Regions from separate parts of the Homo sapiens genome. Here region 2 is linked to region 1. The links are contacts of gene promoters, found by promoter capture Hi-C in blood cells and fetal thymus (Javierre and others, 2016). All regions are on one chromosome and are shown on one strand. Each heading gives the region's core, a stretch centred on a gene start or on the middle of the fragment in contact. The rest is flanking DNA. Distances are from core to core; before and after follow the strand shown. Region 1 holds the start of XIRP1 (xin actin binding repeat containing 1). Region 2 overlaps WDR48 (WD repeat domain 48).

Region 1 (4,853 bases), core at 936-3,435:
AGAACCCGTCTATTCCCCAGCAGGCACCCCTGGGAGGATATGAGGGTGACAACAACCAGGGAGAGGACCATGGGATCAGGGTCCTTTCTGCAGAGACAGCCCTGCCTCTTGCTCCTGGATACCGCTCTCTAAGCAAGCAAGCACAGCTTCAGGGGCTCGGACTCAGGGGGGCTTCAGGCTAAGCCCTACCCCTGCAGGCCTCATGGCCACCCCAGCTCAGCCTCTCCCCGGCTACACCCCCGCCCCTCAATGACCTACCACCCCTCAAGCCCTTCTCTGGTCTCTGTCCATGTATGTCTTATCTCTCTTGTGACAGGTGTACTAACAGTCCCCAGAGGCCAGTAGGGAAAGAATGGGAAGCACGTGCCCCCTCCTGCTGCCCCTGACCCACTGCTCTGCACCACACAGGGTGCTAAATATAGCTGAGGTCCTGGCCTCAGAACAGCAGCCCTGGGCTCAGAGGGAGGCTGAGGCCCAGCCAGTGGGGACCCTCAGTACCCTTGGCTCACCTCATCTCCTTCATTAGCCTGGGCTCCCCTATCCTGCCTCCTGGGCTGGTGTCAGGCCCCTGGGCTGCAGGCCAGCCAGGTGCTAGAACCTGGACACCTTCCCTGGCCAAAGGAGTCTGCACTGGGGGGAGGTACTGGAAGTAAGTGGGGCAGGACTTCCTCCCTATGGCTACCTCAGAAGGAGGAGAGAGGAAACTGAGACCTGCTGACCCCATGCCCACCCTGGCATGTCCACCAAAGACATCAGAACCTTTGGGGAATGTGAGCTCTGAAACCTGCAGCCTGAGTCTCATCAAAGCTCTGGGTGGTTTTCTTTCATTTCTGAGCTCCAATGAGGATCCCCTGCCCAAGGCAAACCTGAGCCTGTCTCCACCTCTACTCCATCCTGTCACCACCAGGGTGGCCTGAGCAGATGGTGTGTGCACACCATCAGCTTCACCCCACCCCCGCCCCCAGGAATTTCCAGAATCTCTGCTAAGGCCACAGACAGTTATTATCATGGAGTCCAGGGATGTCAGGCCTAAGGACCCTCAGAGGTCACTCAATCTAAACCCCTTATTGTTCAAATAGGGAAACAGAGGCCCAAAGAGGGGAAAGGAGCTGTCCAAGGAGGCTCAGCAAGGCAGTAGCAAAGCCTGAAGCATGTCTCCTGACTCCTGGCCTTCCCACCACCATCTTTGCCTGGCTTGAGACTGCTGGGACAAGTGTAGAGTCAGGACAGAATTCATAACTGGGACCAGACTTACGTGGGGTGAGCCCCAAGAACTGTCCTAGAGCTTGGTCTCCTAGGGCTGGGCCAGCCTCTCAGGATGGTCCCCCTGCTGTCCTCGGGTCACCTCCTCCTTGGCCCAGCTGGCTCCATATGTCTTTACATCTGGGCAAATTCAGATCTGGTCTCCCTCCCGTGAGCCCCCCAAATCTGCCCTGGGGGCTTTCCCACTGGGCAAGACTATGGACATGGGCAGAGTCCGAATTCCACCCCAGGTTTTAGGCTATGATATGTAGGGAGCTGGGCTCCGGCCAGCCCCTGGGAGCTATCCCTGGGCCAGATATGCCAAGAGTGTCATCCACAACAACTAGGCATGGGGCTTGTTCTAGCAATGCACACTCAGGCCTACTTACAGCCCCCTGCCCCCACCTCTCTCCTGTTCCTCCTTCCTCCAGATCCTGGGCCTGCCTGAAGCTTCCCTGGGAGGAAGCCCTGAAGCCTGAGGCACTCCATACCTGTATTTTAAAAATCACAACTCCAGGCCTTTCTGGATCATGCCAGCCTGGCAGGAGCCTATCCTTTCTGCTAGCTTCAGGCCTGTGGCAGCCACTCTGAGAGCTCCCATGGGGCTCACACTGTCTTTACCTCCTTTGTGGGTTCTTTATGTCTGAGACTTCCACTCACCTCCTCCCATGCATGCCCCTCAATCTCCTTCCCCTACTCAGAGCCATTCCTAATACGTCCATTTCAGAAGGAGAGGGGATCCCAGCTGTGAAAGCCAGCCTTGCTGTGGAAGGATGGAGAGGTAGGTTACTCACCAAGGGTCTCTCTTGGCTGATGGGGTGTTTGTGGTCTGTAGCAGCTGTGGTCTCAGGGTTCGTCGTTCCTCTGGAGGTTCTTGTTCAAATTGGTTCTGTTCTGCTGGCTCCAACAGACACCTTCTTGCTGCCCTGGCTCCAGGTCTCTGTCCCCTGCCAGCCCCAGCAGCTGCCTTTATCTTGCTGGCTAGTGGGTGGGCCGTGGTGGGGGCGGGTGGGAGAGGCTATGTTCCGAGTATTAAGTGGTTCGGTTATTTTTAGGTCTTGTGGAAGTCACTCTTCCATCCTGGGGAATCAGTTACATGTCCTTTGGGCTGGGGAGGGGAAACAGAGGGGGAGAAGCTTCATTCATCCAAAGTCTGATCTGGGGATTGGGGTCAGTGACTCAGCTGGGTTGTGAGGTTGGGGGTGTCCCAGACTATTTTGAGAGAGTGACTAAGAAGAGGCATCTGACACCTTGGACAGCTTGCTCCCGTCTTGTGAGCCCCCATCATTCTACTCTGGCCCTGCCTCTGACTCTTCCTGACGTGTCTCCACCCACCGTGCCAGGAGACTGGAGGTCTCCTGAGGGCAGGCTGGGCACCTCCTCCTCTGTTCTGAGCCTGGATACCTCTGAGTGTGATGCTCAGCTCTCTTTCTTCCCCATTCCCTTCTGCACTAAAGAGTTCCTTCTTTCTTATCCATTCCACCCTGTGCCCCACAGCACAGGTCAACACAGCCCCGATGAAGCTGGATTTGGGGGGAAGACATCTGAATGACCAGGCCCAGCTCTTCACTGGGCCGAGATTGGCCAGGCCCAGCTCCTCCTTTGCACCACTACACCCAGTTAATTTTTGTATTTTTAGTAGAGATGGGGTTTCACCATGTTGGCCAGGCTGGTCTCGAACTCCTGACCTCAGGTAATCCACCTGCCTCGGCCTCCCAATGAATGAATTCCACAGCAGGACTCTATGGTTTTCATTCCAGATTATCTGAGTCCTTTCTTCTCGACTCTTCCCTCTGACTCAGGGCCCAGGCTTTCTGGGAATGGAGGGGAGGGGAAGGGCGGCATGCAGGGAGCTGACCGTGGGGTTATTTCTGACCCTGGAGTCATCAGCTTCCCAGTCACAGATGGAGTGGCGGCGGGGGTGGGGGGGTCACACCTGCCTCCTCCTTTGCTTACCAGGGCGTGAGGGGCCCAGGAGGCCCAAGAGATCCTGGCAGTCAGACCAGTGTGGTGAAGGATGTCAGGGGACCATCTGCAAAAAACTCGAAAGAGGTGTTTTGTCCTAGGTGGGCCTGGCCCAGGCTCCATGCCTGTGGGTATGCAGGTGCATTCTGTGGCCTGGCACATGAGGTCTTCCTTCTGACTCCCCAAATGCCCTCTGGTACCAGGGGGTGATGCCAGACATTGCTCACTTTTTCCATGTAGTCAATGTCAGTCCTGCAGCGTCAGCTGGGATGGGGGTAAGGACATCTGGGAACCCCCTCTTCCTGGTCTCCCTCCCTCTTGTCTCTTCCCCTGCTCTTTTCTAGCCCTCTGCCTGTCCCCCAGGCTCCTGGCTCTCTCTAGGAAGGGCAGGGAGACCGATGTACCAGTGTTTCAGGGAAAGGGCAGCCTTAGGTTTCTCAGGATTTCTCCTGGGAGGAGCTTTCTCCCTGTGGGTACTGAAATTTCTTACTTTCTAGGATAGTTTTGAGAATTGAAGGAATTATTATATGAAAAGAGTGCCTCCAGCCAGGCACGGTGGCTCACGCCTGTAATCTCAGCACATTTCGGCAGGCTGAGGCTGGTGGATCACTTGAGGTCAGGAGTTCGAGACCAGCCTGACCAACATGGTGAAACCTTGTCTCTACTAAAAATATAAAAAATTAGCTGGGTGTGGTGGCACACACCTGTAATCCCAACTACTTGGGAGGCTGAGGCAGGAAAATTGAATCTGGGAGGCAGAAGATGCAGTGAGCTGGGATCGCACCCCTGCACTCCAGCCTGGGCGATAGAGCAAGACTCTGTCTCAAAAAAAAAAAAAAGTGCCTGAGAGTACTTAGCACATAGCCTATGCTTTAGAAGAGCCAGCTATTATACTGTATATAATATAAAAAGAGAAAAGCCCCTAGGTGGAACTCACTTTTGTACTCACCTCCTGTGATAACTCATGGGAGAAATTCCTCAGGCCTCAATATTAGGAAAGAGGCTCTTCCTGAGCACTTGGTTTCTTTGTATCTAGTACAGCTGTGCTGTCCAATAGAGTTGCCACTAGCCAAATGAGGCTATTTAAATTTAAGTACATTAAAATGAAATAAAATAAAAACTCAGTTATTTCACTACACTAGCCATATTTGAAGTGCTCCATAGAGACAAGTGGCTAGCAACTATTATATTGATTTTGTTTGCTTGTTTGTTTTTGAGACGGAGTTTCGCTCTGTCGCCCAGGCTGGAGTGCAGTGGCGCGATCTCGGCTCACTGCAACCTCCACCTCCCGGGTTCAAGCGATTCTACTGCCTTAGCCACCCGAGTAGCTGGGATTACAGGTGTGTGCCACCGTGCCCAGCTAATTTTTGTATTTTTAGTAGAGATGGGGTTTCACCATGTTGCCCAGGCTGGTCTCAAACTCCTGACCTCAGGTGATCCACCTGCCTCCGCCTCCCAAAGTGCTGGGATTACAGGCATGAGCCACCGCACCCAGCCTGAAACTATTATATTGAATAGTGCAGAATGTTTGCATTATTTCAGAAAGTTCTACGGATAGTGCTGTTATAGATGTTAAAATAAATAAGAAAATAAATTTTTCTGGAAGGAGAATTGTCAATAGAATAAACAATTTTTATGACATATGG
Region 2 (4,853 bases), core at 1,071-3,570, 120 kb before region 1:
CTGTGCCCCAATCGGGGGAGCTTAAAGGGTGGTTTGAACATTAGAAAATAAAGAAACCAAAATAATTTAATCTGTGTAATTATTAAATATATGGACAGTGGTTTTGCCTAGTGGGTGCTAAACAAAAGGTTTTATTTGAATAAGTAAGAGTATAACTATAACTGTTGTGTGTATAGTGACAAGATAAAGAGGCTGTGCATTTTTGATGTTTGAAAGGCCTAATTCCCTGAGGTTGGGAGGCTTAGACAGTGTCCATTGGCAGAAGTGGTATTGCCTTCTCAGAATATAATGGTTATCATTTGACTTATGAGAGTTGTCTGTTATTTAAATTTGATACTGATATATTTAGTTTGTGTAATACTCTATTAAAATTCACAGGTGTTACGGGTATGGGATCCAAGAACATGTGCAAAACTAATGAAGCTTAAAGGGCACACGGATAATGTGAAGGCATTGCTATTAAACAGAGATGGCACGCAAGTATGCAGTTTCATTTGGGTGTTTACCTAATAACCTTGTTAGAAATTTCCGCACTTTGTATACTATTGCATAGGTTGATTTGAACCGAAAGCCACACTTATTATAAATTGTCTAATTAAAAAATTTTAAAATACTAAATTGCACATATAAGCTACATTTAAAAACTATTCTATTTGCATCACTTTTAACAAAACAAAGAATTTCCTTAGAATAATTCTGATGCAGATGAGTATATGCATTTATGGTGCATAGGGGCTAAAATAACTAAAAACATTACCTGTGTAAAGCAAAAGGAAGCTTTGATATCAAATGCTTTTTGCCAGTGTATTAAGTGGAAAATTTGCTCACAGTGGGTCTGACTTAGGGGCACATTTTGTCAGTTGACTATGTAGATATAGTTGATAAATTTAGTTTTCTAACATAATGCTCAGAGTGAACATTTCAAAGAAAAACATTTTGGTAATGTTATACATTAGCTCTGTTGGCCACGTAATTTGTGAATTATAAATCACAATTCTGTTCTGTAGCAATGGAAAATACTTTTTCATCAATGTAGATAATAAAAAACAAAAACTGAGCATCATTTTATGGGTATGACATATGTCTACCATGTACCCTTGACTCAGCCATTTTTTTTCCAGAATGCAGTGATAAGTCAGAGATAACTGGAATTGATTGTGATAGGGTTAGAAAAGGGCAGGTAGAAAGATGATGAGGTGAGAAACACCATCAGTTTCTTTTCCTGTGGAAGTTAAGACTTTAGACATGAAATTGCTAAAATTTCACGTCTAAGAAATTGCTTTAGACATCAATCAGAGAAGCCGTCGCCTCCAGAAATGAACAGAAGGTTTGGAAACTAGTCTAAGGAAGGAAATCATTTTTCAGAACCAGGAGAAGAAAGATTTAAAGATACCTGTGGAGGTATTTGGAGATGTGAAGGATCTTTTTTTTTTTTTTTTTTTAATACTTTAAGTTTTAGGGTACATGTGCACAATGTGCAGGTTAGTTACATATGTGTACATGTGCCATGCTGGTGCGCTGCACCCACTAACTTGTCATCTAGCATTAGGTATATCTCCCAATGCTATCCCCCCACCCCCACAACAGTCCCCAGAGTGTGATGTTCCCCTTCCTGTGTCCATGTGTTCTTATTGTTCAGTTCCCACCTATGAGTGAGAATATGCGGTGTTTGGTTTTTTGTTCTTGCGATAGTTTACTGAGAATGATGATTTCCAATTTCATCCATGTCCCTACAAAGGACATGAACTCATCATTTTTTATGGCTGCATCGTATTCCATGGTGTATATGTGCCACATTTTCTTAATCCAGTCTATCATTGTTGGATATTTGGGCTGGTTCCAAGTATTTGCTATTGTGAATAGTGCCGCAATAAACATACAGGATAGGATTTCACTTTAGTCCTTAATTTGCTTATCTGCAAAGTGAGAATCATAATATATAGTTTATATAGTTGGTGAGAGTGTGTGTATATGTATATATATGTGTTAATAATAAGTATTTTCTTAACTGTAAGCCAGGGCATTTCCTAGAGCTCTCAAGTTCCTTTGTGGCCTCATTTTCACATGACTGTAAGAATTACCCAGTGCAGTCAGCTCCTCACTGTTTTGCAGTGTAGCTGCAAGGCTGCACTTGAGATGGTTGCCCGTGTCTCTTCAGTTAGCTTTGCCAGGATTGGGCGGGATCATATCATCTCCATGGTTTCCAGAAGGGGGCTATGGGCCTGGCAGACCTTCTAAAGCTCTACCTGTCTGCTCCATCTCTTGTTTCCTATCTATGCAATTATGAATGTGCTTCTATAAAAGATGATTTAAGTATCACGTGTACAGTTAGAAATGCACTTCATCTGAAGTCAGCTACAGTCATTGTAAGCAGAGGAAATATTGTGGTTCTACTTTAAAAACTGCCTGTTAGTCTCAGAGTGCAAACTTGATAGGTATCACTCTTCATCTAGTTTCTCTTCCACCCATTTTCCTTATTGGCAACTATGGACTAAATGTAAAATTACCACCAACAACCAAGCATATTTACGTTAGTGAATTGATCAACAAAAAACTATAATAACTGCTTATTTGGGAAAAAGAGATGAGAAAAAAAGAAACTCTTACTGATTAATGAATTGACCAACAAAAAACTATAATTACTTATTTGGAAAAATGAGGTGAGGAAAAAAGAAACTTCTACTTACAGATTCTTGAATTCTTGTAATATGGAAGAGGTGGTTATCAGTTACTGGGCCAAAGTTTATATTGCATCCTGCTAAATTGCCCTGTGAGCTTGTAATATAGGGTACCTGGTGGCTTTGTAAATCAGGAATTGGCAGTAAGATACATATCTTATAGGCCAATGAATCCCATGAATATCTACCTGTTGCCTGATTCTTTTGTTGTAGAATAAGATTCTTATTTACCAAATTTATTTGAGGTTCTCCCTAAGGGAGTTCTGCCTGTAAAGAGATCAGCATTGCAGTTGCTTTGATTGGTGCTAACATTATTGGGCAGAGCCACCTATCTTTTTATTCCTTTTACTTAGGCAATTCATTGCTTGAGGAGCTGGGACAACCTGCCATCTTGATTTGAGTCAGTCATGTCCTTGTATGTCACTCAAAGGGTTCTTTTGGTAATACAAGTCTGCTGATCCTAGCTTATGGGTCTGAGGGTCTCAGAGCATCAGGCCACTTATTGCCCCAGCTTATGTCGTCCACTTGGCTGATCTCTGTTGGCACTTGAGATTGTGTGTTAGTGACCATCCCGGGAACACTCCTGTTGGTCAGCAGCAACTTGGCCTCAGTACACTGGTACTTCCTATCTTCATTGGCAGAAACAAAGAGCACCTGATTAGGGCTACAGACTATTCCACTAAATCTGATTTAGCAGAATCATTGAAGGACATTCTGTCCTAGTCCCAGGAGTTACCTCATAATGAACATCTTCATGTTTATCTATGTTTTTCTAGTGGAAGGATGGAGGCAGTGGAAATGTTTTGATGACTCCTCCAGCTCCTACAAGATCTCAGGCACTATAATTCCTATAAAACAGGACATTCTTTAATTATACTACCAAATGCTGCGAAGAAGTTGGCCAACATAATACTTTTAAAGTGGTTGCTTTGTTGGGGGATCTGCTTTTCCGTAGTCTTAGAATACTGATTACCATCAGAGATTACTTGGCGTTCTATATCAGGGTTGATAAAACTGTGTTTCCTTATCTGCTTCCAACTGTGCACCCTTAGTTTGGGACTTATCCTTTCCTGTTACAAGTTGCCCCAGGCCACGAGGACTTCTAACCATCATATCTTACTTTCCTTGTCCTCTTTAAGTTGTCAAATCTTACTCTGTAGATGCATAGTCTAGGATCTGAGGGATCAAAGCTTTACTAAAAGCTTTGCCACCTCAGAATAACACCTCTTCCTGGAATGGGGAGCCCCTCCTTGGCCCCTACACCATCAGATTGCCACATTTCTCACTCACATATGTTGCAGATTTGCTTTAACTTTGCTCCTGACGTTTGCTTTATTGGTTAGTTTCTTGGTTCCCTTGTAAACTAGCTGGAATAGGTTATTAAACTACTGATGCTCCTGGCATCTTGTGGGAGAGTTTCCTAGTATGTGTTCATTTAATTAAACATGCTTAGAGTTCTCAAGGGCCCTTAAAGTCATGGGGCAGGCCAGTAAATTTTTATTCCTGAAGGCCTCATGTATTTGGGCACCTTCCAAATCTCCAAGCCCACAACTGTCTTTCCTTCTTTGAAGCTCTGCTTACTTAACTTCATACTCCAGCACCAGCAATTGCTTTTTCCTCCGGGCCATTCTTTTTCCTAAGGAAATCAAGTTTTTATACTCTTCTGCAAGTCACCACAGTAACATGCTGTGTGGATGCAGGGTGTCTAATTCAGTCTTTTTCCACCTGAGCACACTCACAGTGTGCTCAGCCCTAATTTGTGTGTCAGCAGCTTCTATGTAGTTGACTCTCTTGAGCCATCAGAAATTGTCAGAATTGCCAGTGTTAACTCACTTGAGGCTCATATGGAAAGTGTCCAACGCAAAGAGTGAATGGTAAGCCTGAGACTAGATTTTGTTTCTGATTCCCGTCAGTAGAATCCAAGAGACCTGGCCTCATCAGGAATCCAGAGCCATGAGACAGAGGTGTAACCCAGGACTTCAAAAGGCTTGCTGGCCTAGTGCAGTGTTTGTCAAAGATAGTGAACATCAGAATCACCTGGAGAGCCTGTTAAAGCACCAGTTGCTGGGTTCCAACAGAGTTTCTGCCTTGTTAGCTCTGAATGAGACCCAATAATTTATATTTTAACAAGTTCCCAGGGGACGCTGATGCTGCTGGGACCACACTTTGAGACCC

Evidence for each region. Contacts are between HindIII fragments. The CHiCAGO score rates a contact against its expected background, and 5 or more counts as called.
Region 2: a contact is called between a fragment that was not itself captured here and the fragment with the promoter of XIRP1 in region 1, in 1 of 17 cell types (activated CD4 T cells). The highest score is 5.2, in activated CD4 T cells.

What each region holds. Positions count from the first base shown.
Region 1 is chr3:39,190,410-39,195,262 of GRCh38, forward strand. XIRP1 (xin actin binding repeat containing 1) reads right to left here and starts at 2,186. Exons shown (of 2, transcript NM_194293.4): 1 at 2,037-2,186. RefSeq lists an enhancer at 957-1,946. The HindIII fragment of the contact is 686 bases long and covers 1,691-2,376 here.
Region 2 is chr3:39,069,265-39,074,117 of GRCh38, forward strand. WDR48 (WD repeat domain 48) reads left to right here. Exons shown (of 19, transcript NM_020839.4): 7 at 379-480. Among named protein-coding and RNA genes, the nearest start is that of WDR48, 20 kb to the left of the region's middle. The HindIII fragment of the contact is 3,091 bases long and covers 776-3,866 here.